7 separate regions of the Homo sapiens genome follow, and all the other regions are linked to region 2. Evidence: promoter capture Hi-C in 16 types of primary human blood cells and fetal thymus (Javierre and others, 2016). All regions are on one chromosome and are shown on one strand. Each heading gives the region's core, a stretch centred on a gene start or on the middle of the fragment in contact. The rest is flanking DNA. Distances are from core to core; before and after follow the strand shown.

Region 1 (2,700 bases), core at 201-2,700, 6.2 Mb before region 2:
GCTCCTGCTAGAGGAGTAGCAAGCCATGTGACCCCACCTCATAGTCACAGAGAATTAGACCTGCCAGGGGCAGCACCCTCACCAGAGTGAGGCCCATTATTAGGCTGGCAATGAACTCTGACTTGGGTTGTCTTTCTTACAAAGGGAAATCAAGCTACCACTCTCTTCTGTTGGGACTTTGAACAAATAAACACAGAGAAGATTCAGTGGATGCTTGAACTGCAAGGTTGTGCAGAGATGGGTGGGTTGCATGCTGGGGCCACCACTGTGGTATTAGAGTATCAGTTACGAAGGAACAATGCAATCAGAGGGAGGTGGTGGGGAGAGAAAGGAGACCACAGTTGGCATGCTCAGAGAAGCTGAGAAGCCATGAGAGGAGAGGCAGAGGTTTCCAGGGTTGCCTCAGTTCAAGCCCTTTCCGAGGCCTGGCTCCTCCTGTTTCCTGGATTTCCATGTGATTCCTCTGACCCTAAAATACACCACTTCTCCCTGCTCTCCCACAGATACACACCACACACATTTTCGTTGAACTGGTTTGACTAGATTTTGTTCCCTTCAACAAAAATCCATGTGCAAATGACACCAGCACACATTGCCCACGCCAAATCTGTCAGTGTGCATGGATCAGCTCTGTCCAGGGTCCTGGGCTGCGACAGCATCACCCACATCCCTGAACCACGAGCTGGTTATGGATTCCTCCATATTCCCCAACCAAGCTGTGAAAAAGATCCCTTCTCTGCTTCTGCAGAGCCTGTTATGGTTTGAATTGTGCCCTCCCCCTCCAAAAAAAGAGACGTTGGAGTCTCAACTCCCAGTACCTCAGAATGTGATCTTATTTGGAGACAGTCTTTACAGAGGTAATCACATTTAACTGAAGTCACTAGGGTGGGCCCTAATCTAATATGACTGGATGTCCTTTTTAAAAGGAGAAATGCGGAGACAGACACGCACACAATGAGAATACCACGTGAAGTTGGAGGCAGCGATCAAGGCAACGCTTTTGTAAGCCAAGGAATGCCGAGGATTGCCAGCAAACCACTGGCAGCTGGGGGAGACACCTGGAACAGATTTTCCCTCAGCCCTCAGAAGAAACCAACAAATATTCCTCAACACCACACATGGGTGTAAAACCATAGCTAGAGAGAAGCTGCATACAGAACAGGTTTCTGATCAAAATATGCCACTTCCATAGGGCATATTGATTATTTTGAGCTGGATGCAAATAAGAATCAACAGGTACAGCAAGAAGCTTTCCTGGATATTTATCTGAAGAAACTCCTAAGAAATAAGGACTGTCATAAATCCCCTCTCCCAGGGAAGTTTTATGGCAATGAAGAAGACAGAAAGTTGGCTCCAAGATGAACCTGCACAAATAACCCTTTATCTTCCATTAGATTCCCCATATATTTCCCTTCCCACAGTTTGCTGCCCTTGGAGGCCTAAAACCCTCCTTTGACTTGCTACTTCTCTAAACCTTTATTGTACCTTTGCTAAGATGCTGTATAAGCTCAAGTTCAAACCAACCCTTTGAGTACTCCATATGTAAGCAGGATGTACATGCTAATAAACTTGTTTGTTTTCTCTTGTTCATCAGTCTTTTGTTAGTCTAATTTACAGAAAACCCAAGATGCAGTAGCAGAAAGAAGCTTTTCCCTCCCCTACAAGAATAACTAGAGTCCCACACAAATCTGCCTGGCAGGCTCAGCTTCAGGGTAAACAAAACTCTTTTCTACCCTCACCCTTTATCTCAGGACTCCTGCCTTGAAGCCCTCTTTATAGTCCCAAAATACCATGCCAGAGACCACAGATTATTTGTCATGAATTTGTGTCCCCACCAAAATTCTTATGCTGAAGTCCCAGTCATCAGTGTCTCAGAAGGTACTCCTATTTGGAGATAAGTGCATATTCGGAGATAAAGGAATTATTAAGTTAAAATGAGTCCTTTAGGGTGGGATGCTAATCCAATATGACCGGTGTTCTCATGACAGGAGGAAGAGACAGCAAGGGTGTGCCTGCACAGAAAGCAATGAAGAGGCAGCAAGACAGCCATCTGCAAACCATGGAGATAGGCCATGAGACAAGCCAACCCTGGTGGTGCTTTGATCTTAGACTTCCAGCCTCGAGAACTGTGAGAAAATACATTTCTGTTGTTTAAGCCACCCAGTTGGTGGTATTTTGCTACAGCAGCCTGAGCAAACTAATATATCATCCTCAATATTCTTCCTCCTCTCCTTACTTATGAAGAGAACTCCTAATTTTTAGCTGGGTACATGGCTGCCTACATTACAGACTACATTTCCTAGCTTCCCTTGCAGCTATAGTCAGTCATGTGATTACATTTTTGCCAATAGGATGTAATGTAAGAAGAAATGTCAAGTGTGCCTTCAGGAAAATGTCTTTAAAGGGAAAAGCCATGACCTTCTTTTTCCCTGCATCCTTTTTGCTGGCTGGAAGGTGGACCTGATCACCGAAGCTTAAGCAGCCTATGTGGCTCAGGAGGCAGAAGTCACATGCCAAGGATACAGTGTGAGATATAGAATGAGCCACCTTACCACCTCTTCCCAGACCATTTCTGAGCTTTCCATGAGAGACAGAAATAAACTTGCAGCTTGGTTAGGCCACAATTTTGGAGGTTTTCTGTCACCCTTTGTCACACTTAACCCTAACTGATACTGTTAGTTTCTCTTTCTACCTCCTTCT
Region 2 (2,700 bases), core at 196-2,695:
CTGGGATTACAGGCGTGAGCCGCCGCGCCCGGCCGCATACAGCATCTTAAATGATGAGTGCCTACCAAACACAGCTAAGGCTTCCTGGTTACTGTGCTGTGCATTGCGGTGTTAAGAGCACACGATGGGGGCTGGGTTCATATTCCAGTCCGGTCACTTTGGTAATGTAGCACTGAGCAAATTTAAGTCTCAGTCTTTTTATCAATAAAATAATAATAGGATTACCCCTTAGAGTTGGTGGGAAATTAACATAACTAATAATCGATGTAAAGCCTTAGTACGGTGCTTGAGGTATAAGTGGTCAATATCAGCCATAACTTCATTGTTTATGTTTTCAATAAGTGCTGCTGCTCTAATTTTACACCCATAAACTGCCTTTACTAATCTTCCTTCTTTTATGCCCAAATGGAATACACAAAAGAAATGCACAAGTTCAGACTACAAGTAATACTCCAGTGTTCTTATCAGTGAGGCCCTCTCGGACTTGAAAATCAAGTAGCTACCAACGTCTCGGGTCCATTCCCTTCGCCCTGCTGTAGTTTCTCCATTACCGCTGTTTATTGACAGTATTCCCCGCCTGAATGTAAGCCCCACGGGGCGGAGACTGTTTCACTGCGGTATCCTTAGCATCCTGATTAGTGCTTGGCATGTAACAGATGCTTAGAGCATATTTGAGAAAAATCAATCAACTGAATGAGCCCCAGCCCGACCCTAAAATCGCCTCCTGCTTGCCTCCCAAGAAGGGAGCTGAAAGAGGCAAAGGGCGTTAGGGCGTCTCCCGTCCCCCAGCTCTTTCCCCCTTACGCACCAGAAGGGTCATTGAATCGTTTCAAGGGCGCCTTAGGAAAGGACATGTTGACGGCCAGCTCCAGAAACTGAAGGTGACTGGCACTCCTCGACAACTGAATGCGGATTATCACTCCCTACCGGTTTCAAATTCAAATCTCCCCACATTCCCCACCCACCCCGGCGTTAGCCAATTGGAAAGCCAAACCCCTGGGCACACCAATCCCGCACAGGAACACGAAGAAAGAATGCTGGGTTCTGATTGCGTCCAATTAGCTGGCCTGCGAGTTTAGGCTGCCATCCAATAGGAGACCGTTACTGTTCCCCGCCCCACCCACCCAGTCATTCCCGGAGTTACTCAAGTGTAACCTAGCATTTGCGCAAGCGCACTTCCCTCCGGAGACGTTAGAAAGTGCATTTTGGCGTCACTTAGGGGACGGTGTAGTGAGTTCCGGCTTCACTGGTTCCAATTCTGTCCCATTGTTCGTTGCATGTGAACTTTTCTGGATTTCAGTTCTTTCATCCGGGGCCTGCCGGTGCCGTAAACGGCCATTCAAAGGGAAAAACGAACACGCACACCAAAGCGCTAGCTTGCGTTCCTGCGCATGCGCAGTGACCCGAGCGGAGAGGCCGAGGCGTAGCCTAAGCGTGGGATTCCGCGCGTGCGCTCGGCTCCGCCTGGTGCGGCCGCGGCCGGGAGGGACTGGATTATGTCGGCCCCGTTTGAGGAGCGGAGTGGGGTGGTACCGTGCGGGACCCCGTGGGGCCAGTGGTACCAGACCTTGGAGGAGGTGTTCATTGAAGTTCAGGTGCCGCCAGGCACGCGCGCCCAGGATATCCAGTGCGGCCTCCAGAGCCGGCATGTGGCGCTGTCGGTGGGCGGCCGCGAGATCCTCAAGGTAGCGGCAGCTCGGGGCTTGTGTTCAGTTTCCTCTTCCCAGACGCCCCCAGCCCCGTTTCCCTGAACGACTGTTGGGTGTCCCGACGGCTCCTGTGGCTGGCAGAAAGAGAAAGAGGATAACACTGACCAGGTTTGGGTCTGGTCAGAGCCCCCGCCTCTTCAGGGCAGGTGCTGAGTTGTGGAAATTTGAGGAGCCTATTTTCGTGTTTAGTTTTCAAACTAAGACTGCTGCTTCTGCTTCTCTGACGGGCTTCAGCTGGGAACAGATTAACTAGGTTGCTAAAGGAACAAATATTTCTTCCGTGCACTGAAGACAGGCAGGAAGACAACAGATAACGTACCTGCAGTGGAGAGGTTAAGCTCCTGTACGGAAGCGTAATTCATAAATAGATAAATATAGGAAAGGACAACAAAGAAAATAGGGATAGAATAACGGGCAGAGAATTTAGAGATGATGTCAGGTGATTAGTTTTCTCATCTAAAAGCTTGAAAATCCTGCATGTTTGTGGAGTGGTCAAGCAGGTGGTGAAGAGGTGTGTGCATAAAATAAGTAGTACTCCTTTTATTTCTTTTCACCAATGCTCTTTGGATCTGGACCCGCTTTTTCTTTGTTAAGTGTATAATTAAACTAACAGGTTGAAATTAGATTTAGTTCTCAGGTTAGATGCCCAAGATGTTTGATGGCAGTGTAATATGGTGAAGGGAGACTACTTGTTTCCTAGTTTTGTAAACTTGGGCGAGAGATTGTTCAGTGTCTCTATATCTTCCTTATCCACAAGATAAGGTAGTTATAGTACCCTTCTCATGGGATTGTTTTGAGCTTAACATGGTATTCACGTGTATGAAGAGCTTGGAGTATTCACTGGTATGTAATAAGTTCATACTATATGTTAGCTATTAGCTATTATATATATTACAGTATATGGAGGTGCTTTGAGTGCCTCAAGATTCGTGTGAAAGACATTATGTCAGCTTGGATCTCAGTTACTTTTCTGAATTGTACAATTCATAGT
Region 3 (2,700 bases), core at 55-2,554, 5.6 Mb after region 2:
CGAGGCCCACGTGGGGGAGGGGGGAGGGGGAGAAGGAGCTGGCCTTGGGCTAGGGGTTGCCCACGTCACGCCCCCTGGCTCTGCCAGCCCCATCATGGCGGCGGCCCGCTCCTTCCCGGCCCCGGGCCTCATCCCCGCTGGCGAGGCTGGGGAGGGACCCTCCCTCGTTTTAAAAAAAAACATCCTCTTGGCCACCCTTCTCTCCTTTCCAGGCCTTCCCGTCCCTTCCCCTATTCCAACCCCTGGGTGCCGACGCTTTGGTCATAAGGGGCGGGTTGTTTGGCGCTGGGTCACTGCCCTGGCCGGAGGACTGTCTTGGCCCCAGGCCGTGGGCTTTGCCTCCTGGGGAGCAGGGAAGGTTTGGGGGTGGGGGGCACAATGCACTGGTTCCCTGTGTCCCTCAAGGTGTAGTACGGAGAGACCTTAGACCTGGTTGGGGTGTGTCTTTTATCTTCCTTGCCTCCTCTTAATTCCTAATGAACCTGAAGTGTTGGAGTGGGTGGTAGTAGTGTAACAAGTGGCTATTGTGGTCAGCCTGAAGTTACTCAAGAAGACACTCATCCTTTGCTTTTCTAACACTAGTGAAAGTAGATCACTATATGACTTCTTGCGATTTTTTCTTCTGTTTCTTTTTCCACTACACATCATTTTTGGTGTGCTACTTGTTCCATTCGATTAAATTAAGAGGTCATTAAGAAATGTCCTCTTAAGGAAAAAAACAACCCAGGTTTATATCCTGTTGATCTGCTTTTAAAAGCAGGTAAAACGACCAGTACGTAGTTGATTTCCTTTAAGACTGAAATAACTTTAGTCTCTTACTTGCACAAGGAAAACCTTAACTTTTAAAATGAGTATATCAGGTATAACAGTGGTTAAGTAAGGTCTTCTAGGCCAGCAGGAAATAAAGTTTAAGAATTTAAGCAGTCCTCTTCCTTTGGGGCTTTAATGATTATGCAATAAGTGTGGTGAGAAAAACAGTTGATTTGTGCCACCCACCTAACCTAAAATCAGGAAGTATAGATAGCAAACTGTTTTCTTGACACCAGGAAACAAAGTAATTTCCAGTGCCTTGTCTGATACATCAGATAGAACTTAGAGCTTGACCATATTTTTATATTTTCTGTGCTACCAAGAAGGCAATAGAGTGCCTAAGGAGCACAGGTTTCAGAACCTGCAAAGCTGGGTTCAAGCTTTATAACCTTGGGGAAGTTACTTATCCTCACAGTGCCCTAGTTTTCTCTGGTACAAAATGAAAATGCAACGATACCTACCTTAGAATGTTGTTGTGAGGCTTAAGGGTTAAGGGATTGTATTGCATATAAAGCCCTTAACAGAATATGTTTATATTAGTGTACTTTTGAAACTAGCAAATGTTTTGCATTTAGAGTGAAATAAACCTCTTTAAGAAAGAAGCTTCAAGTTTGAAAAGTGATTTGCTTTAATAATTTTCCTTTATAACAACTCATTTGGCTATTAAGGCTTCAGCTATTTATTTCGGACTATTTAGCTATTTATATATTCTTTGCTTTTGCTTACCGAAGATGAAATAAACTAGATCTTTTCCAGATCTAGGTTCATTGGCATTTTTTTAGTATATTGTGTAAAGATTAGGATATCAACTTAAATAGTTTTTTAAAGGCCAAAAGAAGACTAAAAGCTACCTTTTTTTTTTTTTTTTTTGATGGGGTCTCATTCTTTTGTGTGTTCATAACTCACTGCACCCTCCAACTCCTGGGCTCAAGTGATCCTCCCACCTCAGCCTCCCAAGTGGCCAGGACTACAGGCATGCATCACCGTGCCTGGCACTGCCTCCTTATTTCTCAGTCAGAGGTCAGAAGAATAAAACCATTAAGAAACACCTTGTTCTCTTAGAGGACCAAATTTGTGGTACTCAAAAATTTGAAGAGGCTGTACATTGTTCGTAAGACAGAAATCGAGGCAATATTCCTACTATTGTTGTACCTTTCATATTTGCTTATCACACTTGTTACTAATCTTCACGTGCTTTAGGTTAAATTTGCCATGTAAGTAGTTATCTAAAGGAAAAGCTATTGTTGAAAAATATTATCTATCTTTTTACTACCCAATTTAGGATGTAGACTTGAACCAAATTATTCAAGAACATAGAAGAATGTTGTCACCAAAGACTTTTTAAGGCTTTTGTGGGTGTCTGACACATATTAAGATTAGAACATGAGGTTGATTTACTGATGAGTACTCGGGATTTTAATTTTCATCTTTTCACTGGCAAGAAGAGAAGAAATTCTTCCCCCCAAATGTAAGCATCTTACAGAACCGTGGATCTGTTAGACTGTGCACCTTATAATGCCATAATAGACGTGCATCCATAGAATGGTTGGTCTGATTATCAGAGGTATAAAATGATGAAGGAACTTGCAAATGAAGAAGCAGTGACGTGATTAAGGGCTATTCAGATAGATGGATCAATAGAATGAGGGCTTCTATGAGAGAAAGGTTAGGGGTTTAACTATCTGGTTCATATTCTGGCATTACGTTTTTAATTAGCTGTATGTATGATTTGAGGCAGAATCACATGAATCTCCAGACTTTGCCTTCCTTATCTGTAAAATGAGGGGACCTGGCTAGAGTAAGACTTTTTCCACCTTTGATGGCTATTGGAGAAATGCATTTCCATCAAGGAAAAATAGTTGGAACTAGTTTTTACAATAGCAGACAAAT
Region 4 (2,700 bases), core at 167-2,666, 5.2 Mb before region 2:
ATTTAAGACTCATCCCAAAGGTTCATCATTGTGAAATATCTCTTTACTGGATAAAGAAACAATCCTAAAAGAACCCAGAGAGCGAAAAAAAAAAAACTCACATATAAAGGAAAGGGAGCCATAATTGCAACCGATTTTTCAACAGGCTTGAAAATTCTTATGAAAAATTATTTTCAATCACGACCTCTCTGCAAAGCCCAGCTATCAATCAAGTGTGAGGGAAGTCCAGCCACCTACTTAGTTATGCAAGATCTCTCAAGCAATCTTTCTTATGGAAGCATGAAGAATGTATAAGGAATGCAGTAACACAGTGGAAGAGAAAATAGAGGGCTAACCCACACATGTGGCAGGTATCAGCTGGCTAGATTCGAGAAAGAAGATGTAGGGAAGCAGAAGAGAGGTCTCTTGGGGGGTGTGGAGAGAGGGGGAAGCATGGAATTGATAATCTGATGTCTTCGAACATTTATAAATCTTCTTGATAGGCATTTGACAAATCTGTGGAAACACTGGGAACAAAAAGCAGTAAGTACCTTGAAAACTGAGCAAATGCCAAAAATCGAAGCACCTCGTTAACGAGAAAGAAAAGCTAATTACAAAAGAAAAAAGAGGGCCAAGTGCGGTCGTTCACACCTGTAATCCTAACAACTCAGGAGGCTGAGGCTAGAGGATCACTTGAGCCCAGAAGTTCAAGGCTGTGGTGAGCTATGATCACACCACTGCAAAAAAGTGTCATAACACACTTATTGACTGAATAAAGGGAATATTTATCTAGTTCGTGTAATGCAATCTCTAGTGACTTAACAAAAATGATGTATACCTAGAATATGAACTTTATGACAGCTGAGATCTTGCCCTATTCCCTTCTATATCCAAGTATTTCAAAGGTCAGTATAGGGCATATTAATTTTTTTCTTTTAATTATAGCATTTGAGTCCAGAATTTTCAATAAAAGGTAACAGAGCTTTTCTTTAAGAGCTCTACTGTGAGAAAACATTAGACATTCTGGGGACATACAGAAAACTAGCTGGTGAGAAGCAGCCCACCATTCTCCCTGGCATTTCATCTATAGGAGAATATGTTGCTCCCACAGATTGTCCCCAACGTCAATTTCCTCTCGTGGCGTCCCAGCCCTGAATATTCACAACTGGGTCACTTTGTACTTATGCTATGCCTGTTAGAATAATTCACTGAACTTGAAGCGATGTCAGTCATCAGGAATGCTGTGAATGTCCTAGTGAAAATTTCTTTTCTAAGGCACACTTGTTCATGGCTTTAGCCTATCTTAACAGACAAGAAAAGCTTCTAAGGTTCTTGGGCCCCAGAGTCTGCATCATTCGGTTCTATAAGTTTTTATTCTCCATACAGCTGTAGATCTCGAATTGCTCACAACGCAGAAGATCCTTTATCCCAATTGTCTTTAACTTTTTGCTTCCTGATTACCGACATCAGAAACAAAAACCACAGAATTTTTAGAAAACGTAAAATAGAAAAACAATCCTTCCTAATAACCAGAGATGACACTCCTAAGCTTTTTCTTTTTCTAAGTGATTTTTTTTCTTCTCACCACTGAGATAGTAATATCTCAATATGACTAAGAAGCCACTGTAGGTGTCTAGTTTATTAACCATACAAAATAAATATTTTCTCACTCATTAAAAAAACTCTTAGGACCTGTAATCCCAGCACTTTGGGAAGCTGAGGCAGGCGGATCACTTGAGGTCAGGAATTCAAGACCAGCCTGGCCAACATGGTGAAACCCCATCTCTACTAAAAATACAAAAATTAGCCAGGCATGGTGGCGGGCACCTGTAATTCCAGCTACTCAGGAGGCTGAGGCAGGAGAATTGCTGGGCAATAGAACGAGACTTTGTCAAAAAAAAAAAAAAAAAGAAAGAAAAAGAAAAACCTCTCAGGAACAGTATGAAAGATTTTCAAAAATTATTCCCTTTAGGGGAGATTTATAGCTGATAGGTAAACACCTTTTTATAAAAGTGGTAACAGATTCCATATTTCTCTAAGAAGCCCTCTCACAGGGCCTTTCCTTGGCTTTTTGACTCTAGGAAAGTGCATGTGATATAGTGGGGTGCTGCTTATGATCTGGGGCTCTGTACTCAGGCCAACTTCCATCCTAATCCCAGCATGCCTCTTACTAGCTAGTGACTTCAGAAGTTTCCTTCTCTGTGACTCACTTTCCTTATCTGTAAAATAGGGATGATTATATCTCCCTCACTGGGTTATTAAGAAGATTAAAAGAAATATGGCATGTCAAGTGGTAGCCCCTTGCCTAGAAAAGAATAAGTGCTCAATGAGTACTAGCTGCCGTCATCTTCCCTCCTTTCATCATCGTCAAAATTAAGGATTAGGAGAAGCAGACATTCCTAAGGATTGGTTACATCTCCTGCTGTTAAGATGGCAGCTCCAAGCCTCTTGTCTGTTTATTTCATCCTGCATATTTCTGTTCCAATTAATACATAGCTTCTTGGAATGCAGGAGGATTGTGCCTTCTAAAGTGAGCATTTAATGAATGCTCTCATTCATTCTGTGCCCTACCTTCCTATCCTTGAGAAACTTAAAAGGCTAATTGACAGCTTTGGCCTCAAGCCACATGTGAGTAAATAGAGGCGTGGGCTAAATATGTAGTTGTAAAATGAGAAGAAGAAAGATAATTGGCATTAATTGAGTGCCAACTGTGAGCTATAA
Region 5 (2,700 bases), core at 72-2,571, 5.1 Mb before region 2:
CTAGCTTATTTGAGTTTGTGGATCCAATGACTGACTGAAGTATGTTCTTGACCATTTAATTAGAGACAGAATCCGCTGTTAAAAGCTTCATCTGGGCTTTGAAGGGTGTGTAGGGTGTGAGTGTATGTGTGTGTGTGTGCATGTGTGCATGTGTGCGTGTGTGCGCATGTGTGTGTGTGTGTTTATTCATACCAGGAGACCTATAGTCATCATTAGGTACAACTCACCACCTGTCTCTGTGGATACCCGCTCAGTAAAGGCAAAATGAAGATGTGTCAGGTCTCCTCTATCATTTTGCATGATGGGCTGGATTTATTGTGTTTCATAGACAATAAATATTGAGACAAGAAGACAGTCTCTTGGCCCCTTTAGATGCTTTTCCCAGCTCCTGCATTCACTCTGCCAGGAATGGGTTTTGAGGACATGCTAGAAAAGAGAGAAAATGCAATTAACCAGATGGTGCTAGGAGGAGGGACTGGGGCTGAAAGCCAACGCAGGCTGCAGAAGGAAGAGTGGCCACAAACTAAAACAGGATGACCTGTCAGTTTCAATCACACTGGTGAAAACTTTAGGAAACACATGGCTGAACACATTTCACATTGGTCCTGAAAAGGGAACAGGTTCTTAGTGAACTGAACACACTTCACATTGGTCCTGAAAAGGGAACAGGTTCTTAGTGAAATTCAAAAAGTAGAGATGAAAGAAATCTCTGGGCTGGGCACCATGGCTCATGCCAGGGTGAGCAAAACTCTGTCTCAAAAAAATAAAAATAAAAAAACCAGGCACAGTGGCTCATGCCTGTAATCCCAGCACTTTGGGAAGCCAAGGCAGGCAGATCACCTGAGGTTAGGAGTTTGAGACCAGCCTGGCCAGCAAGGTGAAACCCCGTCGCTACTAAAAATACAAAAATTAGGGAGGCGTGGTGGCAGGCAACTGCAGTCCCAGCTACGCAGGAGGCTGCAGCAGGAGAATCGCTTGAACCTGGGAGGCAGATATTAGGCCGGGCACAGTGGCTTACGCCAGTAATCCCAGTAATCCCAGCACTTTGGGAGGCTGAGGCGGGCGGATCACAAGGTCAGGAGATCGAGACCAGCCTGGCTAACACGGTGAAACCCCACCTCTACTAAGAATACAAAAAATTAGCCAGGCATGGTGGTGGGTGCCTGTAGTCCCAGCTACTGGGGAGGCTGAGGTAGGAGAATGGCGTGAACCCGAGAGGCGGAGCTTGCAGTGAGCACAGATCATGCCACTGCACTCCAGCCTGGGCGACACAGCGAGACTCCGTCTCAAAAAGAGAAAAAAAAAATCTCCAACAGTCATCTCATTTTGCAGATGGGTAATTTGAAGCCCAGAGAGAAAAAGGACTTTCCCAGGGTCACACAGCAATTGTATGGCTGATCTGAGACAGGAATTCTCACTATTCAAAGTTCAGTGATTTTCTGGCATAACAGACCAAAGAGTAGTCTCATCTTTGAACAAACAGCAAATAGATGGTTAACTCTAGTAATATCACAGGTGTATAGCCTAACTTTTAAGCTAAGTCATCCATGTGTACACTCATCTCTATGGCCACAGAAACTAGCAAGAGCCTGTGCCCAAAACTTACCCAAATTTCTGTGGCTTCTAATTTCTAGCTCTTCTTCCTTTCAGACCATGGCCAGACTATCACAAGACATACGTATCAATTCCCCTTTGACTTCCAAGCTGATACTGTCAAAGAGAACCAGAAACAACCAAAAGATATATGTTGTCAGAGAACTTGGTGTGCCCATAAGATTTATAAAAGCAGCAGGTAAATCATATTAGATAGTGAGTATTCTTTGAAGCCATGTCAGATCAGAAATCACGACTCTCATCCAATAAAACTGTGGAAAACAGGACCATTCTAGAATATCTAAGGTTCTGTGTGGGATAGAGTAATAACAGGAAATAAAAGAGGAAGTGCAGGTTAAGTCTACCATTCAGGATTCTAACTTGCCAAGTCATATTCCTGGTAGCTCAGAAAGATGTTTCTATAAAAAACAAAACAAAACAAAACAAATAAAGGCCAGGCAAGGTGGCTCATGCCTGTAACCCCAACACTTTGGGAGGTGAAGGTGGGAGGATGGCTTGAAGCCAAGAGTTTGAGACCAGCCTGGGCAACAAAGTGAGAACCCATCTCTACAAAAAATTAAAAAATAAAAAAATTAGCCGGGTGTTTTGGTCCATGCCTATGGTCCCAGCTACTCGGGAGGCTGAGGCAGGAGGATCCCTTGAGCCCAGGAGTTGGAGACTGCAGTGAGCAATGATCATGCCACTACACTTCAGTTTGGGTGACAGAGTGAGATCTCGCCACTACACTTCAGCTCAGGTGACAGAGTGAGACCTCGTCCCTAAAAAAAAATTTTCTAAACAACAAACATAAAATCTGGAATCAAAATAGTAAATCAAACATAAAATCTAGAATCAAAATCTGGTCTGATTGGTGCCATGTGGTTCCTTATCTTTTACCTAATTAGACCTATGGTCTGATCCCAAATAATGACCTTAGGCAAAATGTCTAAATACAAAAGCTTTCTTCCTTTACTTTACAATAAGAATAACAATCCAAGGCCACGGCAGGTGGATCACTTGAGGTCAGGAGTTCGAGACCAGCCTGGTCAACATGGCAAAACCCCATCTCTGCTAAAAATACAAAAATTAGCCAGGCGTGGTGGCACA
Region 6 (2,700 bases), core at 50-2,549, 5.1 Mb before region 2:
CCTGCAATCCCAGCACTTTGGGAGGCAGAGGCAGGCGGATCACAAGGTCAGGAGATCGAGACCATCCTGGCTAACACGGTGAAACCCCGTCTCTACTAAAAATACAAAAAAAAAAAAAATTAGGCAGGCGTGGTGGTGGGCACCTGTAGTCCCAGCTACTCGGGAGGCTGAGGCAGGAGAATGGCGTGAACCCGGGAGGCGGAGTTTGCAGTGAGCCAAGATCGCGCCACTGCACTCCAGCCTGGGCAACAGAGCGAGACTCCATCTCAAAAAAAAAAAAAAAAAAAAAACTTTGAAGGGAAAAAGGTAAGTTCCACATGGAACATGTGTCTTACCCAATACATATTATTGCCTGAATGCATGATTCAGAGTAAATGAAGTTTGTGGCTAACTGGTTTTTAATTTGTGTTTCTAAAATGGATATATATATATATATATATTTTTTTTTTTTTTTTTTTTTTTCCTCCCATAGCTTTCCCATGGTTTGGCATGGACATTGGGGGAACTCTAGTAAAGCTCTCGTACTTTGAACCTATTGATATCACAGCAGAGGAAGAGCAAGAAGAAGTTGAGAGTTTAAAAAGTATTCGGAAATATTTGACTTCTAACGTGGCATATGGATCCACCGGCATTCGGGATGTACACCTTGAACTGAAAGATTTAACACTTTTTGGCCGAAGAGGGAACTTGCACTTTATCAGGTTTCCAACCCAGGACCTGCCTACTTTTATCCAAATGGGAAGAGATAAAAACTTCTCAACATTGCAGACGGTGCTATGTGCTACAGGAGGTGGTGCTTACAAGTTTGAAAAAGATTTTCGCACAGTAGGTATCTTTTACTCAAAACTGAAAATTGATACCTGTTTTTAAATATGAGAGTAGGTTTCCATCTAGCATGTTCCTTAATTCTCCCTGCACATGCAGTGGGAAATATGTATCCATGGTTGCCTTTCACTTGGGGCGTTTTAAACACGTTTATGAGATGAGTAAAAATTGCCCGGATTTGGTCATGTTGTTGCACATAATATTTGGTAAAACTTGTTTAGGGCTGTACTACAAAGCTACAATAAAAAGGGGATTTGGGGACTTTAATGAATTTGGCAGTGTACAAAGCCAGATATAAATGAAGCTTGAATTATTTTCACTATTGTCCTACATTTACATGGTTTTTGGAATATTACTTATTCAAATAATATTAATCTTCCAGGGCCATCTCCTTCCCAAACCCTAAGTCTGGAAACCAATGTCTTTTGGTTAGTATAATGGACACCTGAATGAAAATCTGTTACCCTTTTTTTTCTGTTTTTATGCTGTTAATCCTGCCATGTTCCTGTGTCAAATGGGGTGATTTGAATGGATCTGGCAGGAGAACTATGAGTATTGGTTTGAGTTATGTGCTGTTAGCAGTTTGCCATCTTCTAGTCTTTTCCATTAGAATGAGAGTTCAAAGAGTGGTTTGCCAAGCTTCTAGTCTTTTCTATTAGAATAAAGAATGGCTCTGTTTAGGACCACTGAAATTTGTTTTTCTTGAAAATGTAAATGTGAATAATTTAATTTCTGAAAATCATAAGAAAATACTGTTAATGGAATATAAAGGCTGACGTGGGAGGATCACTTGAGGCTAGGAGTTGGAGACCAGCCTGGGCAATATAGTGGGACCCCGTCTCTACAAAAAATAAAAAAATTAGCTCAGCATAGTGGCCTGTGCTTGTAGTCCCAGCCACTCAAGAGGCTGATGAAGTGGGAGGATTGCTTGAGCTCTTGAGATTGAGGCTGCAGTGAGCTGTGATTGAGCCATTGCACTCCAGCATGGGTGACAGTGAGACCCTGTCTCAGAAGGAATATAAATAACTTAAATGGCTCATAGAAGCGAGACCCATATAATTTGAGGTAAAGATCTGTAGTACTGTATGAAAAGAGGTGCCTTGGGAACACAGAGGAGTAACAACAGCTAGAGAGTTGAAGAGGTTCCCAGAGGAAGTGATATCTAAGCTGCAATGTTTTATAAACGGTGTCTTATAATACGCTTTTTACTAACCTGAAATGATGAATGTAATCATTTCAAACTAGTACTCAAACTATAATATAAAGACAGGAGATTAAGGTATCAGTTATTAATCAGAAATTAATCTATCCGTGGGTAGATTAACAAACAGTATGATCATTCCAGAGGACATCATGAAGTAGTTATATGCTTGCACCTATGCATAGATTGATCATGAATACCAAAGCTACACATGCCAGATTGATATGGTATGTTCTGTTGGAAAATAAGATACCATAAATGGCATTGCTGTTGGTGACATGACCCTCCAACATGCTAAACAAACACTTGGTAAAATTCCAAACAGTAAGAAGTACAATTTTCCCTTGCTTTATGTGGTGGTTCAATTCCTAGCAAATTTAGTATATATTTAAAACTACGTGGGTTGGGCACAGTGGCTCACGCCTGTAATTCCAGCACTTTGGGAAGCCAAGGTGGGCGGATCACTTGAGGTTAGGAGCTGGAGACCAGCCTGACCAATGATGGTGAAACCTCATCTCTACTAAAAATACAAAAATTAGCCAGGCGTGGTGGCGGGCGCCTGCAATCCCAGCTACTTGAGAGGCTGAGGCGGAGAATCGCTTGAACCCACGAGGTGGAGGTTGCAGTGAGCCGAGATCATGCCACTGTACTCCAGCCTGAGTGACAGAGCTAGA
Region 7 (2,700 bases), core at 134-2,633, 6.1 Mb before region 2:
CTTTTCAGCAGAGGTCTAATGGATGAGAAAGAGTTAACCTATCAATCTACAAAGAGAGATAGCCGTGGTTGATTAAAAACTACTAATGTGTGACAGACATTGTGCTTGGTGCTTTATACACATTCTTTTTTTTTTTTTTGAGACGGAGTCTCGCTCTGTCGCCCAGGCCAGACTGCGGACTGCAGTGGCGCAATCTCGGCTCACTGCAAGCTCCGCTTCCCGGGTTCACGCCATTCTCCTGCCTCAGCCTCCCGAGTAGCTGGGATTACAGGCGTGAGCCACCGCACCCGGCCGCTTTATACACATTCTTATTCAATCTTCTCAACAACTTCAAGAGGTTGAAGGTATTTCCCTCATTTTACACATGCAAGCTGAGGCATAGAAAGTTTTAAGTAACTTGCTTAGGGTTACCCGCAAGTTAAGACGCGAAGTGTGATGGGAACTAGAATCTACCTAGAAACCATGGTGCTGCAACCATTTTTCCTGTCCTGCTTCTCAAAAATATAGCACACACAAAGCATTTGGGACACAGGAAACTCTGGGAATCAAACTGCCTGAGTTCTTACCCCGCCTCCACTACTCACTGGCTGCATGAACTTGGACAAGTTATTTAATTTCTGGTTTAATCATCTATAAAAACAAGCACAATAACACCCACCTAATCGGTTACTGAAAGGATTAAATGAGATAACGAATGAAAAGCAATTAGGGTAGAATCTGACACACGGCTGGGGCAGTGCTGTCCAGCAGAAATATAACGCGAGTCATGTACGTGATTTTAAATGTTCTAGGAGCCATCATGATTTAAAAAGTAAACAAAGATGAAAAATTAATTTACATATTTAAACAAATACACTCAAAACATCATTTCAACATGTAATCATTATAAAAATTATTAATGAGATATTACTCCTTATGCGCTATCTCTGAAACCCAATATGTATCTCCCATCTGCACCATTTCTTAGTTCGGGCTAGAGGCTACCGTACCGCACAGCGCAGATCCAGTGGCGGTTATAATTTTGAGGACCCGGCAACCGACCCAACGTTCCATATTTGTCCAGAATCCCTGAGGGCGGCGAGGTGGTCCAGCGGAAGATAAGACCGGCTCGGAACCCAGTGTATAAGACCCCAGGGTTCCGGGGAAGGAGATGTTTCAGCTAAAGGCCTCGGCCGAGACCCCGGCCCCTAGCTTTCTTTAGGGCCTGTTCGACTCTCCCCACTGCCGCTCTCCACACCCACCTCCCACCAGGCCCCTTGCCCCTACCTCTCACGCTAGTCCCCTGCTGCCGCAGCCAGCGGCTCCTAATGGGAGCTCAGGGCGTCCACATTGAGGACGCTAACTCCACAGTCGCCGGCCCATTCGCTCAGCTAGCTCTCGAGTAAGCGCCTGGGATATTTGAATGCAGTTCCCGCGAGAAGTCCCACGTCTCACGAGACGTCCGCCCAAGCCGCGCGGAAAGGAAAAACCAAGAGAAACGCCCAATGGAGCGCCCACCCCCTCCTACAGCTACTGCGCATGTGCAAGTGGCGCGCCGTGGGCTTGGCGCAGGCGCAGGCGCAGACGTGGCTCCACATAAATTTTTCCTTGGGCTGGTTTCCTGCATGTCTTTTAAGTATTTGCTTTTAGTTTCCGTGTTTTGGTGTTTTGTTTGTTCGTTTTTTTTTTTTTTTTGTTTTTACGACAATGCCTTCTAGGGGAACAGTGTCGCTGGGCTGGGCGGTGGAGAGACACCTTTGGCACCATCGTGCGATCTCATGCACCCTACCAGTGGTAATACTGGCGTTAATATTTAAGTTCCCACCATGTGTTAAAGTTTACAGATTATCTCAGTTAAGCCCGCAGCCTTATGAGGCAGATATTACTCCTCGTTTTCTACAGAGAAAAAGCCCGAAGAAAAAAAGTGCCTTGTCCAAGTGGTAGAACTAGAATTGAATGCAGTCTTAGAGTCCAAGCTGTTTGCATGTGTTTTTAATAATAATATTTTGTAACCCTGATGCCTATTCAAAAATTGAAGCGATCAGAAATAATAATAGATAACATTTAATGAGCACTGATGAGTCCTAGTAACTGTTACATGAATCATGTCGTTCTTTCGAGCCCATCTTTTCTTGCCTATTTGAGAACTTGGCTCTAACTGCTCTTTTTTGCATCTTCAGTTTTTTCTTCTCTATTGGATCTTCCCTATCAGTTCATAAACATGCTGCAGTGATTGCCATAAAATCATTTCATGATTTCATTTTTTAAAAAATCCTCCTTGACACCAATCGGCAACCACCCCATTTGTTTTCTTCTCTTTATAACAAAATTTCTGGGGAAAAAAAATCTTTACATCCATTATCTCCATTTTCTTACCTTTTGTTCTTTTGTTTGTTTTTCCCACTTTAACCAGGATTTGGTCCCAACCAATACTATGAAGTGGCTCTTGTTAGGTTTACCAGTGATTCCTACCTTGCAAAATTCGGTAGTCAATATTTAGTCCTCACTTCTGGTGAAATTTGACAGAGTTGCTTGCTCTCATTGATTTGAGTCTTTATGTCTTGGGATGCCACACTCTCCTTGCCCTCTTCTTCTCAGTTTCTTTTGCAGACTACAATTTCTGCCTGAGCTAAGCCAGACTCAAAGGGTTGATCTGAGCTTTAAGATTGGCAACAAATTGCTCACAGTGTTGTCTCACAGATTTATCTGGGACTCCAATGA

Evidence for each region. Contacts are between HindIII fragments. The CHiCAGO score rates a contact against its expected background, and 5 or more counts as called.
Region 1: a contact is called between a fragment that was not itself captured here and the fragment with the promoter of NUDCD2 in region 2, in 2 of 17 cell types (non-activated CD4 T cells and naive CD4 T cells). The highest score is 6.7, in non-activated CD4 T cells.
Region 3: a contact is called between a fragment that was not itself captured here and the fragment with the promoter of NUDCD2 in region 2, in 3 of 17 cell types (total CD8 T cells, activated CD4 T cells and naive CD4 T cells). The highest score is 9.3, in total CD8 T cells.
Region 4: a fragment that was not itself captured here is called in contact with the fragment with the promoter of NUDCD2 in region 2 in 1 of 17 cell types (naive CD8 T cells); the score reaches 9.9 in naive CD8 T cells.
Region 5: a fragment that was not itself captured here is called in contact with the fragment with the promoter of NUDCD2 in region 2 in 4 of 17 cell types (naive CD8 T cells, total CD4 T cells, activated CD4 T cells and 1 more); the score reaches 13.2 in naive CD8 T cells.
Region 6: a contact is called between a fragment that was not itself captured here and the fragment with the promoter of NUDCD2 in region 2, in 1 of 17 cell types (total CD8 T cells). The highest score is 7.0, in total CD8 T cells.
Region 7: the fragment with the promoter of SPDL1 here is called in contact with the fragment with the promoter of NUDCD2 in region 2 in 2 of 17 cell types (total B cells and total CD8 T cells); the score reaches 8.6 in total B cells.

What each region holds. Positions count from the first base shown.
Region 1 is chr5:169,639,352-169,642,051 of GRCh38, reverse strand. All of the region lies in intron 1 of DOCK2 (dedicator of cytokinesis 2), which reads right to left. Among named protein-coding and RNA genes, the nearest start is that of DOCK2, 3.4 kb to the right of the region's middle. The HindIII fragment of the contact is 397 bases long and covers 1,252-1,648 here.
Region 2 is chr5:163,458,847-163,461,546 of GRCh38, reverse strand. It overlaps NUDCD2 (NudC domain containing 2), which reads left to right and starts at 1,445. Exons shown (of 4, transcript NM_145266.6): 1 at 1,445-1,685. The coding sequence starts at 1,497. It overlaps HMMR (hyaluronan mediated motility receptor), which reads right to left and starts at 915. Exons shown (of 18, transcript NM_001142556.2): 1 at 809-915. The coding sequence starts at 854. RefSeq lists enhancers at 669-728, 1,479-1,728 and a silencer at 1,059-1,148. The HindIII fragment of the contact is 3,644 bases long and covers 1-2,174 here.
Region 3 is chr5:157,856,205-157,858,904 of GRCh38, reverse strand. The region is part of intron 1 of CLINT1 (clathrin interactor 1); the gene reads left to right. Among named protein-coding and RNA genes, the nearest start is that of CLINT1, 1.6 kb to the left of the region's middle. RefSeq lists an enhancer at 1-130. The HindIII fragment of the contact is 223 bases long and covers 1,193-1,415 here.
Region 4 is chr5:168,609,874-168,612,573 of GRCh38, reverse strand. No RefSeq gene overlaps it. Among named protein-coding and RNA genes, the nearest start is that of PANK3, 32 kb to the right of the region's middle. The HindIII fragment of the contact is 229 bases long and covers 1,302-1,530 here.
Region 5 is chr5:168,583,145-168,585,844 of GRCh38, reverse strand. No RefSeq gene overlaps it. Among named protein-coding and RNA genes, the nearest start is that of PANK3, 5.1 kb to the right of the region's middle. RefSeq lists a silencer at 1,954-2,003. The HindIII fragment of the contact is 2,467 bases long and covers 88-2,554 here.
Region 6 is chr5:168,566,771-168,569,470 of GRCh38, reverse strand. It overlaps PANK3 (pantothenate kinase 3), which reads left to right. Exons shown (of 7, transcript NM_024594.4): 2 at 473-825. Among named protein-coding and RNA genes, the nearest start is that of MIR103A1, 7.1 kb to the right of the region's middle. The HindIII fragment of the contact is 335 bases long and covers 1,132-1,466 here.
Region 7 is chr5:169,582,456-169,585,155 of GRCh38, reverse strand. It overlaps SPDL1 (spindle apparatus coiled-coil protein 1), which reads right to left and starts at 1,383. Exons shown (of 12, transcript NM_017785.5): 1 at 1,267-1,383. LOC105377714 (a long non-coding RNA gene) reads left to right here and starts at 1,495. Exons shown (of 3, transcript XR_941200.3): 1 at 1,495-1,773. RefSeq lists an enhancer at 756-1,756. The HindIII fragment of the contact is 7,098 bases long and covers 1-2,700 here.